Regions from separate parts of the Homo sapiens genome. Here all the other regions are linked to region 1. The links are contacts of gene promoters, found by promoter capture Hi-C in blood cells and fetal thymus (Javierre and others, 2016). All regions are on one chromosome and are shown on one strand. Each heading gives the region's core, a stretch centred on a gene start or on the middle of the fragment in contact. The rest is flanking DNA. Distances are from core to core; before and after follow the strand shown. Region 1 holds the start of SLC25A11 (solute carrier family 25 member 11). Region 2 overlaps MINK1 (misshapen like kinase 1). Region 3 overlaps LOC105371501 (a long non-coding RNA gene).

Region 1 (4,060 bases), core at 1-2,500:
GCCACTTCGGCTGGTGTTCCCACAAAGGCACCAGTGGCACCTGCGGTCATGCCAATCACAGCCTTCAGCAGAAAGCCAGGGGGAGTACCATCAGCCCCAGTCAGGCGCTCAAACAGCACGGTATAGATGCCAAGGCGGGTAGTGGTGTAGGTGGCCTGACGCAGCAGGCCAGCCGACAGCCTGAGGAGCAGAGGGGTCAGCATATCAGGCCAAGGTCTAGAGCTGCCAACCCACAGTCTACCCTCCATCCTGAGGCCCCAATACCCAGTGTAAATGCCCCTCAGGCCTTCTGCCTTCAGGATACTGGTGAGGGCATGGAAGCTGGTTTTGTACTCTCGAGTCTTGGCCCCTTCCCCGCTCAACTGCATCCGGTTCTTCACCAGGTCCAGGGGCTGGACAAAAACTGTAGCTCCCATCCTGGGGGAAGACAGAGGTGGAGTGAAGGGCCAGGCATTCCAGATCTACCAGTGCCCACTGGAGCCTGGCAGCAAGAGGTTACAAAGGTCAGGGCCTGCCATGCGATTCAAGAATCAGGATGCTGGTGAGCATGTGTATAAGAGTCTATATGTACACCAAGTGCAACGGGTCTGAAAAGTCTAGTTGTCCAGTAGGGGCCATGCAATGAAAGTGCTCCAAGCAGCTTCATGACAGTCAAGCAGTGACCTGGGGCTGCACGCAGTCCGACACAGGGAGGGGAGGAAGGGGCATCCAAGATTTAGGACTCCAGGTAGTCCTGCAGGAGCCATTTAATGGCCTGGAACCCCCTGCCGCCCGGCCGAGCTTAGCAATGCGCTGGGAAACTCAGCTGGCCCGGCGGGGGTTGTGCAACGACCCTGCATGCAGTCCATAAGGGTCCTGCAATGGGGCCCTAGCAGCCCATCGGGGAACTCGCAATACGCTGGAGATCGCGCTGACCCCGTGCCGGCACAGTTCACTGCAACAGACCCAGAGATGAACCGGGCCCGGTTCCTTTTGCCCTTCCCTTCCTCCTCTTTTCCCATCCCTGGGGCCTGAGCTTACCCGGCCAGGCCCCCAAACAGGAACTTGACGGACTTAGGGGAGGTACGGGGCTTCCCGTCTATCCCGCCGGCCCCGGCACTCGCCGTCGCCGCCATCGCCACTCAATGGCCCTCGGCTCCGGGTCCCGTGCGCGCGCGGCCCCGCTCGCGCCCAAGGTGACACCGCGCGCGCAACAGAGCGAGGGCGCGCGCACGCCCCTCCAGCTCTCAGGTCCGACACCCGCTGGAAGCCGGCGCGGGCGCAGGCGCGCAGCGCAAAGGCGGCCGGGAGTAAGGCGGAGCTGAAGGAGGAGCTTGATGGAAGCGTGCGAGAAGGGGCGTAACTGATTTGGAAACCAGAGGAAAGGCGCTGTTTTCACCGAATTAGAATCGCGGGAAAATAGAGAAGAGTTTGTTTGAAGGTCTCGCGAGATCGAGTGAGTACGGCTCGCCAAGTTGGAGCGCTCTCGCGATAGACACAGCAACTATTCAGCTGCGAGGGGACGGGAGAGGTGGTGAGCACTCTCGCGAGATTTGAAGGAGCGGCGGAGGCCAGAGGGAGGAGAGGTTTGTAAACTAGGAGGCTCCGGGTTTCCGGGCACTTTTATTAGGTCGTCTTCTGGGCCACCAGTGCCCCTTCCATCTCCACAGGCAGTCCCTCCATCGCTAACCTTTTTTTAACCGGCCTTTTAGGACCGGAAGTCCTTCATCTCAAGCATCCAATGCTGAAAGCGGCCTGATTTTCTCTACCGGAAGCCCTTTTCCAGAGGCTGGGAACACGGCCCACCTAGCAGGAAGTCCCACCTCCTTGAGCTCCGCCACCCTTCCCGAAGTTTTTCTGTCACCTGTGTTAGGCTCCGTCCCCTTTCCGCGTTTTATCCCCGTACCAGAAAAGGATACATTTAGTGCCTCCCACCCAGCTCCACTAAACGGGTTGGATATCTCATTCTTTGAGTTGGTGTTCCTTCCCCGGCGCCCCCATGTAGCTGGGAAGTGGGACCTGGGGGTGGTTGGACCCCTGGGATCCTAAAGGAGGGGCAGGGAGGGCGCAGAACTCCGCTTCTGCTCCTTGCTACCAGGACGCGCGGCCTCCTCAGCCTCTTTCCTCCCGCTGCCATGCACCCTGCAGCCTTCCCGCTTCCTGTGGTTGTGGCCGCTGTGCTGTGGGGAGCGGCCCCGACCCGGGGGCTCATTCGAGCGGTGAGTCTGAGGGACGGATGGGGAAAGGGCGCTGAAAGGAAGGGTTGCAGGCTGAAGGGGAACATCGCCTTTTTTGTCCGCAGACCTCGGACCACAATGCCAGCATGGACTTTGCAGACCTTCCAGCTCTGTTTGGGGCTACCTTGAGCCAGGAGGGCCTCCAGGTGATTTTCTTTCTTTTCTTTTCCTCCTTCCCTCCCTTCCTTCCTTTTCTGTCTTTTTTCTTTTTTTAGTATTTCGCAAGATCCTCCATCCTAGGCTGGGGTTGGGGAGGTTTGTCCTGGGTGAAACTGGAGGTAGGAAAATGAAGTTAGGAACTGAGCACGTCTAGTGTAGAACCCAGAATCTAGAGGGAGAAGACAGAGTGTCCACCCCTGGAACTCCGAGGTTATCAGGGAGACTGAAAGTGGACGAAGACAGAAGGCAGGATCAACGGTCCTTATCAGGAAGGTCTCAGGTGCTAGTTATTGCTTATATGACTTTGGGCAAGTTAATCTCTCTGAGCCTTAGTTTGTTTTACTGTAAAATGGGATATTAGAAGTTTTCCTAGGGTTATTGTGAAGATCAAAGTAGATACGCAATTTTGGTAGTATTTCATCCCAAAGACTGCCACATAGCAAGAACTCAGTTGGGCCTTAGTAGCAGTCGAGTTGTTTGTGAGATGGGTAATTAGAAAATTGAAGAGGCCGGGCGCGGTGGCTCACATCTGTAATCCCAGTTCAAGACCAGCCTGGCCAACATGGAGAAACCCTATCTCTACTAAAATGGCAAAAATTAGCTGGGCGTGATGGTGCACGCATGTAGTCCCAACTACTTGGGAGGCTGAGGCAGGAGAATCACTTGAAACCGGAAGGTGGAGGTTGCAGTGAGCCGAGATCGCGCCACTGCACTCCAGCCTGGGTGACAAAACGAGACTCCATCTCAAAAAAAAGAAAAACAAAAAGAAAACTGAAGGGAGGGGAGTGTGTCTGTATGAGTATGTGCTGGAGAGGGGACTGTGAAACAGAACTTGAGAGAAAGTGACATGGGTGGTTTGAGAATTGAATTACAATTGGAATATTAGAAGGCAAAAATAATTGCATTAGCTTGCAGTATAGGGTACAGATTAGCCCATCTGGGACAGCGAGAGGGATGATGGGAGAGTTTGGTGAAGGGATGTTTTATGTCATTGCCTTTTCAAGAGGCTAAGAGAAGGTTGTGATGGTGGGATGCTCACTCAGACCCCAGGAAGGAGGAGGAAGTGAGGATAGAGGATGTGCAGCATGTGGGCTGGTGTGTTTGGTGGCCCCTGTAGAGAGCAGAATCTAGAAAGGAGAAATCTCACTGTTGTTTGCTTCCATCCTTCAGGGGTTCCTTGTGGAGGCTCACCCAGACAATGCCTGCAGCCCCATTGCCCCACCACCCCCAGCCCCGGTCAATGGGTCAGTCTTTATTGCGCTGCTTCGAAGATTCGACTGCAACTTTGACCTCAAGGTTGCTGAATGAGGAAGGGGAGCTGGGCAGCTGAGGGTAAAAAAAAGGCACCAGGAATGAAGACAGGTAAGGCCCATGATGGCTCCTTGTCCTCTGCCTTGTCTCCCTAGGTCCTAAATGCCCAGAAGGCTGGATATGGTGCCGCTGTAGTACACAATGTGAATTCCAATGAACTTCTGAACATGGTGTGGAATAGTGGTAAGGCTGGGGGAATCTATACAGCTGGGCTTTCAGTAGGACCCAGAGATGGTGGGAAGGCTGAAGGCCTCAGGAAAAGAAGCCAATCCTTTAGGTGGGGTGGGGCCAAAGTGCAAGATGCCAGGGTTCCCAGAGGATTTGAGTAGAAGGTTGTGAGTCCCCAGAGTAACACCTTGATCCCTGCAGAGGAA
Region 2 (4,146 bases), core at 563-3,062, 100 kb before region 1:
TAAGGCTTGGTTTTCAGCTGGTGATGAGGGTAATCGTCTGATATTAGGGAAGATTGAATTGCGTTAATCTCTTAGCCATGTGTGGGGAGGCCAGATGGACCTGCTACTTTGTAGCCACAGCCACACTTGACCTCTTTGAGGTTCCTTTTCTCCACCAGCCTGGCTGCAGCGTGGTGAGGAAAAGCATGTGGTTTGAAGTTGCAGCCCTGAGTTCAAGTCCTAGTTTCTTCCCTTACAATGTAACCCTGGCCCTGCTCCCCTTACTGCAGATTCTGCCAAGAGCCTTACCCTCTCTAAGCTTCATTCAGTCCTGTATCGTGGGCATGGTAATAGTACTGAATGCAGAGTTGCTGAGGATTAAATGCACGTTAAGTACATAGTACAGTTCCCAGCACACAGTGATCATATATGTGATAGCCCTTTTTGCAGTTATTTTTATCAAATGGCAATCAGAGAAGCCTTCCAGGACAACTTTATCTAAAATAGCACTCCCTCCTCTGCTTTATTTTTATACAAAATTTTATATAGCATTCCCTTAGTCTGCTTTATCCTTCCTCATAGTATTTATCACCAGCTGACATATATATTCCTGTCAGCCCCACTAAAATGTCAGTTCAGTGGCCGGGTGTGGTAGCTCACGACCGTAATCCCAGCACTTTGGGAGGCCGAGGCAGATGGATCACCTGAGAGGTCAGAAGTTCGAGACCAGCCTGGCCAACATGGTAAAACCCCATCTCTACTAAAAAAAAAATACAAAAAAATTAGCCAGGCATGGTGGCGCACACCTGTAATCCCAGTTACTCGGGAGGCTGAGGCAGGAGAATCACTTGAACCTTGGAGGTGGAGGCTGCAGTGAGCCAAGATTGCACCACTGCACTCCAGCTTGGGCGACAAAGCCAGACTCTGTTTCAAACAACAACAACAACTACAACAAACAGTTCGGTGAAAGCTAAGATTTTGGCTGTTTTGTTCATTTTTGTATCCCCAGTGCCTGTAAGCATGTTTTGCACATAATGGGGGCTCAAACGTTTGTTGCAGAAGTGCCTCTTACAACACGTGCCACTTACAACACAGTGCAGTGCTTGCTTAGAGAAAGTATTCAATAAACCCCAGGCTTCTTAGGCTTCATTTTGCCCCTCTTTTATTTATGCACAATTAAGAATATATTTTTTCTGGGATGTTTTTAGAATCAGACCTTGTCTGGGGTAAACAGTTCTGGAAGCCTCCAGCTGAGCGATGCCCTTGAAGTAAAGTTAGGATCATCCAAGAGAAAATGTGGGCCTCTGTGTCTAAGCTTGGTTATATTCCAGGAGAACCTTCTGACTTGGAACTCTTGGCTTCTCACAAAGGATAAATATCAGTGGAAGTGGATGGGACAAGGAGGGGGCAGGCCCCGGCCTGACCTCTTTCCTTTTGCATTGCTCCTTTTGGTTGACCCACTTCGTAAATCAAACAGCTTCTTTTTACCATCCAGCTCGAAGTTTGACTGCAGTGTCCTTGAAACTGTGGAGCTATGCTTAGCGTCGCTGGATTGAAATCATAGCATGGAGCACATTCAAGGAGGACTTGTTGCTCGGTGGTAGCTGCTGACAGAGATGTTCTTTTTCAAATGATTTTGTGTTGTTGTGTCTGTTCTTTGGATAAGTGTCTTCGCCTTCCTCCTCTCTTCATGCGGCTGTGGAGCCAGCACCACTCGGAAAGCTGGCAGTTCTGGGCATGTATTTCTAGGCTGCTGAGCAACGTGGGACTGCCTCTGTGTTCTGATGTGCTAGCTGTCCAAATGTTGATGACAGATGCCTTAGGCAGGAGAATGGGAAGAGTGACCTCCTGCTGCAGAAGTAAGGACATTCAATAGTGACTTTTTTCCCCTGGAAAATTGCAAAAGGGGAATGGGGCTGTTTGGAGAGCTCGAGGCATTTAGATGAAGTGAAATGCTGCCTTGGCAAAATGACGGAAGGAAGATTACTGAGAACTTGGCTGAAACTAGGTGATCAGTCATTCCCCAAACAGAGGGAGAGACATCCCCACCCTTTATGCTATGGGATAGGACAGTTTGCCATAGTCCTTAGGGATATACACAGCAGGGAGGTTTTGACAGTTAAGATAACAGTAAGGTCAGCAAGAGAGCCAGCTGGCCCACCCCCTCACTCTTGCCCCAGGAGCTCAATTAAAACTCTGCTGGGTAGAATCCTGACTTCACATCTGGCCTCCATTCCTTTCCGCATTGAACTGTGTGCCTAAGACAGGGTAGCACACACAACTTGCACATGTAAACCATCTTTGTTTGTCATTTAGGGGACATGATGGCAGGAAGTGTGCAGCCGCTCTTGATAAGCTTGTATTCTGGTGTAGGTCTGTAGATAAGGCATGCAGTAACCTCTCAACCCAGAAACATAAAGCAATTCTGGACTGGAGAACATCTCCAGAAGCCGGTGAGAGTCTGCCTGTCTAATATTTCTGTCTCCAGACAAAGTTGAATCAGAGAAAGTTATCAATAATCCCCTGTCCTCCACCAGTCAGTCGCCAAGCATTGGCAGTCTATGTATTGAGAATCAGGTTCCAGATTCTATGGAAAGGATGTAATATAGTACTCAGTCCTCTACTAAGCTATTTAACCAGATCTCTGGGGACATCCACCCAAGCAAAGCAATGCCTTTCCAAGCCTAGACTCTTTTTTTTTTTTTTGAGACGCAGTCTCGCACTGTCGCCCAGGCTGGAGTGCAGTGGCGCGATCTTGGCTCACTGCAAGCTCCACCTCCCAGGTTCACGCCATTCTCCTGCTTCAGCCTCCCGAGTAGCTGGGACTATAGGCGCCCGCCACAATGCCTGGCTAATTTTTTGTATTTTTAGTAGAGACGGGGTTTCACCGTGTTAGCCAGGATGGTCTTGATCTCCTGACCTTGTAATCTGCCCGCCTCAGCCTCCCAAAGTGCTGGGATTACAGGCGCGAGCCACCGTGCCCGGCCTAGACTCTTTTTCTTAACTGTTACTGTTTTCCTCAATATCCTGCAACCTTCAAGGTTGGGACATTTTTGTTAAACCTGATTTCCATGAATTACACTCATTTTCTGTGGTCAGTGGGCAGTCATCTTGAAACCTGGTCTTCAGCCCCACTCCCTTCGACACCTACTTTTTACTACTATCTGTCTCAGTCTTCTCTTTCCTGGATTGAAGACAGAACAAAAGTGATCAGGTTAATAAGTCAACTCTCAAAGCATTTCTTGAATTCACACAGAGTATAGTAAGATACAAAAACGTGACTTGGTAGAAGACTTGGATCCTGTCCACAGCTCACGGCCATTTGCTCTCTCCAGTTCTTTTGCCATTCTCCTCCGAACCAACCAGTCCTTGACTTGAGACTGGGCTTCTCTTATCTATAGGAAGCTCTTCTAGGGGGTAATGGAAAAAGGGTTTTGAGGCTCTTTGTTCTTACTAAGGGCGGGAATAGTAAAGGGAGGAGAGAAAAGAGGGATGGAATTGTAGTGACCCAAGAGAGCCCCTGGAGATTTTGTCCAGTGGCTAGACAGCCTGAGGTTGTACGTGCTACGTGTGGGTAGGATTTTGTGTTCTGTTTGAGGAAAGATCTAGAACTAGGCACAGAGGACACAGTGGTGATACAGTCTAGTAGTAGGGAGAGACATTAATCAAGTAATTATTTATTAATGTGTGTGTGTGTGTGTGTGTGTGTGTGTGTGTGTGTGTGTGTGTGATTGCAAGCCATGATAAGGACTGTAGTGAAAACTTTAACATGCCGTGGGCACATATAACAAGAGTTGTTTTGAGCATATGTTCTCAGGATCTCCTGAGGGCTGTGTCATGGAAAAAAAATTGCTTTTACGAGACAAAACTTTTATAAGACAAAAATATCTAGTTGATTGAGAGAGACGTAAATCATGTCAGAAAGCTAAACTGGCATTGCTGCAGAAAGATGAGATAGAGTTGAACCAGCAGGTAGAGTTTGGTGATGGTGAGAATTGGGAGACTCTGGAATGGGGCCATTCTTATGGTGAAGCATTTGGTCAACAATTGAGGGCAAGAAGCCTGAGGATGGGGTGGAAACTCCAGGCTTAATTCCAAAAGGATTTCTTCTGAATCTTCCTGTGGGAGGGGAAAAAAAATGGTTTATTTGTTTGTCTCAAAAGTTAA
Region 3 (3,905 bases), core at 1,249-3,748, 110 kb after region 1:
AGGTGGAGGTTGCGGTGAGCTGAGTTCACACCACAGCACCCCAGCCTGGAGCCTAGGAGTTTGAGGCCTCAGTGAGCCCAGATCGCACCACTGCACTCCAGTCTGAGCAACATCCTGTCAAAAAAAAAAAAAAGAAAAGAAAAAAGAAGTAAACATGTTTCTTTGATTTCAATTGTCTATTAACCACAATGAAAGCCTGAAGCTCAAAGCAGCTATTCTTTTGCCTGTTTTTGCTCCCCTACACCACTAATAATTTCTGTTATAGAAACTTTGACTATTTTAAGGCTCCCGGTTATAGCTGTGCTTCTTTTCACAGAGCCTACATCTGGCACCAGACAGAGGCCTGCAGGGAAAGTGAGCCTTCTCAAGCCCTGCATTCTTTCAAAGAGGGGACAAACTACAGACACTCATTTTGGGTGTCTTCCCAGGCACGGGTGCTGAAATTATCCTCTGTTCTGGTGTGGGGCAAGGGTGGGATTGGAGGAAGCTGCCTGGGCAAGCGAGGTCCTCCTCACGCTGTTGCTTGTCACCTTTCAAGGGCATTTATTTTGCTTCTGGTCTGATAAACAAATAATAAGATTTTCCGTGGAGGACTGGACAATCAGAGGAACTTCAAGAGGAGGGGCATATTCCTGCCTTTGGGACACGAGGAAGGAAAGGAGAAAGGAAAAGATAGACTTAGAAAGCTTCACTGCAGGCCAGATGCGGTGGCTCAAACCTGTAATTCCAGCACTTTGGGAGGCCGAGGCAGGTGGATCACCTGAAGTCAGGAGTTCGAGACCAGTGAAAACCCGTCTCTACTAAAAATACAAAAATTAGCCGGGTGTGGTGGCAGGCATCTGTAATCCCAGCTATTCAGGAGGCTGAGGCATGGAATCACTTGAACCTGGGAGGCGGAGGTTGCACTGAGCCGAGATCTTGCCATTGCACTCCAGCCTGGGCGACAAGAGCAAAACATCGTCTCAAAAAAAAACAAAAAAACAAAAACAAAAACAAAAAAAACCACAGCTTCGCTGTGCATCCTTGAGCTGCTTTTCTATTTCAGTTGAATGCATATTGCAGTTTATCATGATCACATGCAAGCGCTGCCCTACAGCTGGGCGGTGAGTTCAGAGCGATTACCATGGAGACTGAGAGAAGATTGCGTATCATCCCCCCAAACAGCATTCCAGCGTGGGAACGCCAAATCCAGATGTGAAGAACACAAACAAACAGTATGCAAAAGTTCAGAAGTTAGACTGTTTTTGAGATTGTGCCATTGGACTACTGAAAAGAGACATAAAGATGCAATTCCAACATATTGTATGATCCTGTTTATATGAAATATATAGAATAGACAAACCTCTAGAAATAGTCTCACCTGTCCAGGCTCAGCTCAGAGTGCCACTCCAGTAAGCACAGACAAGTTAATAAGTCAAAAGATACAGGTTAATCCCAGGCATAGTAGTTCGTGCCTGTAATCCCAGCACTTTGGGACGCTAAGGGGGCGTGGATCACCTGAGGTCAGGAGTTCGAGACCAGCCTGACCAACATGGCGAAACCCTGTCTCTACTAAAAATACAAAATTAGCCGGGCATGGTGGCACATGCCTGTAATCCCAGCTACTCGGGAGGCTGAGGCAGGAGAATTGCTTGAACCCGGGAGGCGGAGATTGTGGTGAGCCGAGATCATGTCATTGCATTCCAGACTGGACGACAAGAGGAAAACTCCGTATCAAAAAAAAAAAAAAGGAAAGAAAGAAAATAAAAGATACAGGTTAGAGACATATCCTATCACTGTGACATTGATAAAGATCATATTGTAAAATGGTGAGGGGGGTGGTATGAAATATTTCATGGGAAATACACATGGCCAATAGACATGTGGAAAAGATGCTCTCCCTGACTGTATATATCAAAGAAAGGCAAATTAAGACATCAGTAGGATACCATTTCTCACTTGAAAAGAAAAGAATATTTTAAAGGCCAGGTGCAATGGCCCATGCCTGTAGTCCCAGCACTCTGGGAGGCTGAGATGGGCGGATCGCAGGAGCCCAGGAGTTCGAGACCAGCCCAAGCAACATGGCGAAACCCCATCTCTACAAAAAATAAAATTTAGTTGGGCATGCTGATGTGCACCTATAGTCCCAGCTACTCAGGAGGCTGAGGTGGGAGGATCCCTTGAGCCCAGGAGGTTGAGGCTTCAGTGAACTGGGGTCACACCACCGTGCTCCAGCCTGGGTGAAAGAGCGAGACCCTGTCTGAAAAAAGAAAAATAATACTTTTCAGATAATTTGATTGGTTGGAATTCAGTGAAAGAATCTCAAACCCTGCTGCTATAAATTGGTAGATGAAGGAGGAATTCAGTTACCAGAAGAGGAACAGAGGCACTGGGTAGGTAAAAGCAACAAGGGCTCATTACAAAGCTTTTCTTATTTTGGTCTTTTTTTTTTTTTTTTTCCTGGATAAGTCTCTTGAAATAGAATTATTGGGTGAAACTGTATGACATAGCTGAGGCTCTTGTAACAGACTGCCAAGTTTCTTTCACAAATGGTGATTCTAATATTCCTTTGCATTAGCAGTACAGGGGTGTGCCCCATGCCACCACTCAAAAACAAGCTTTGAAAATGAAAGATAGGCCAGGCACCGTGGCTCAGGCCTGTAATCCCAGCACTTTGGGAGGCCGAGGCGGGTCGCTTACCTGAGGTCAGGACTTCGGGACCATCCTGGCCAACATGGTGAAACCCTGTCTCTACTAAAAATACAAAAATTAGCCGGGCGTGGTGGTGGGCGCCTGTAACCCCAGCTACTCGGGAGGCTGAGGCAGGAGAATCGCTTGAATCAGGGAGGCAGAAGCTGCAGTGAGCTGAGATCACGCCACTGCACTCTGGCCTGGGCAACAAGAGCGAGACTCCGTCTCAAAAAAAAAAAAAAAAAAAAAGAAAAAAAGAAAAGAAAATGAAAGACAAAATAACACCTATAAGCCAAGTGAATAAAGGGCAACAGGACTACAGATTTTTTTTTTTTTTTTTTTTTTTTTTGAGACTGAGTCTCGCTCTTGTTGCCCAGGTTGGAGTACGGTGGCGTGATCATTAGTCAACACAGCCTCGACCTCCCAGGCTCAGGCAATCCTCCCACCTCAGCCTCCCAAGTAGCTGGGACTACAGGCGTTGCATTACCATATCTAGCTATTTTTTTGTTTAGAAGGATCTCACTCTGTTGCCCAGGCTGGAATCCAATGGTACGATCTCAACTCACTGCAACCTCTTCCTCCCAGGTTCAAGGGATTCTCCTGCCTCAGCCTCCCGAGTAGCTGGGACTATAGGCATGTGCCACCATGCCTGGCTAGTTTTTGTATTTTTAGTAGAGATGGGGTTTCACCATGTTGGCCAGGCTGATCTCAAACTTCTGACCTCAGGTGATCCGCCCACCTCAGCCTCCCAAAGTGCTGGGATTACAGGTGTGAGCCACTGCACCCAGCCAACCAGCTAATTTTTGTAGAGACAGGGTTTTGCCATGTTGCACAGACTGATCTGGAACTCCTGGCTCAAGTGATCCTCCTGCCATGACCTCCCAAAGTGCTGGTCAGATCTCAGCTTGGACACTACACCAAGCCACGAGGAGGTCTCCGGATTTTTGTGCCTCATTTTGGGCAACTGCTAAATGAGGGGCTTGGACTGGCTGATTTTTAAGTTTCTTGTGGCATTAATATTTTATAACTCTATAATAACAGCTTCTCTACAGCTTTGAAAGGTTTGGAACAGAGGAAGAATACCTGACATTTATTTGTTGCCAGGAGCTAGGACAAACTGATACTCAGCGGAAGGAGTCCTGAGAATAAAGAAGTGCAGAAAATGGCTGGTGTCAGTCCACAGATGACCAGACTCGTTCACTGGGACATGTAAGACATCCTTTAGGGGTTTGCAC

What was found. Contacts are between HindIII fragments. The CHiCAGO score rates a contact against its expected background, and 5 or more counts as called.
Region 2: a fragment that was not itself captured here is called in contact with the fragment with the promoter of SLC25A11 in region 1 in 1 of 17 cell types (erythroblasts); the score reaches 5.1 in erythroblasts.
Region 3: a contact is called between a fragment that was not itself captured here and the fragment with the promoter of SLC25A11 in region 1, in 7 of 17 cell types (M1 macrophages, M0 macrophages, total B cells and 4 more). The highest score is 10.6, in M1 macrophages.

The regions. Positions count from the first base shown.
Region 1 is chr17:4,938,796-4,942,855 of GRCh38, forward strand. SLC25A11 (solute carrier family 25 member 11) reads right to left here and starts at 1,251. Exons shown (of 8, transcript NM_003562.5): 1 at 1,021-1,251; 2 at 265-417; 3 at 1-180. The coding sequence starts at 1,115. It overlaps RNF167 (ring finger protein 167), which reads left to right and starts at 1,473. Exons shown (of 10, transcript NM_015528.3): 1 at 1,473-1,565; 2 at 1,692-2,198; 3 at 2,282-2,362; 4 at 3,546-3,671; 5 at 3,782-3,869; 6 at 4,056-4,060. The coding sequence starts at 2,115. RefSeq lists enhancers at 1-58, 59-584, 1,301-1,370, 2,251-2,380 and silencers at 1,091-1,160, 1,723-1,917. The HindIII fragment of the contact is 8,197 bases long and covers 1-4,060 here.
Region 2 is chr17:4,836,277-4,840,422 of GRCh38, forward strand. The region is part of intron 1 of MINK1 (misshapen like kinase 1); the gene reads left to right. Among named protein-coding and RNA genes, the nearest start is that of MINK1, 5.0 kb to the left of the region's middle. The HindIII fragment of the contact is 1,041 bases long and covers 1,293-2,333 here.
Region 3 is chr17:5,049,345-5,053,249 of GRCh38, forward strand. LOC105371501 (a long non-coding RNA gene) reads left to right here. Exons shown (of 4, transcript XR_002958101.2): 4 at 3,775-3,905. Among named protein-coding and RNA genes, the nearest start is that of SLC52A1, 16 kb to the left of the region's middle. The HindIII fragment of the contact is 193 bases long and covers 2,403-2,595 here.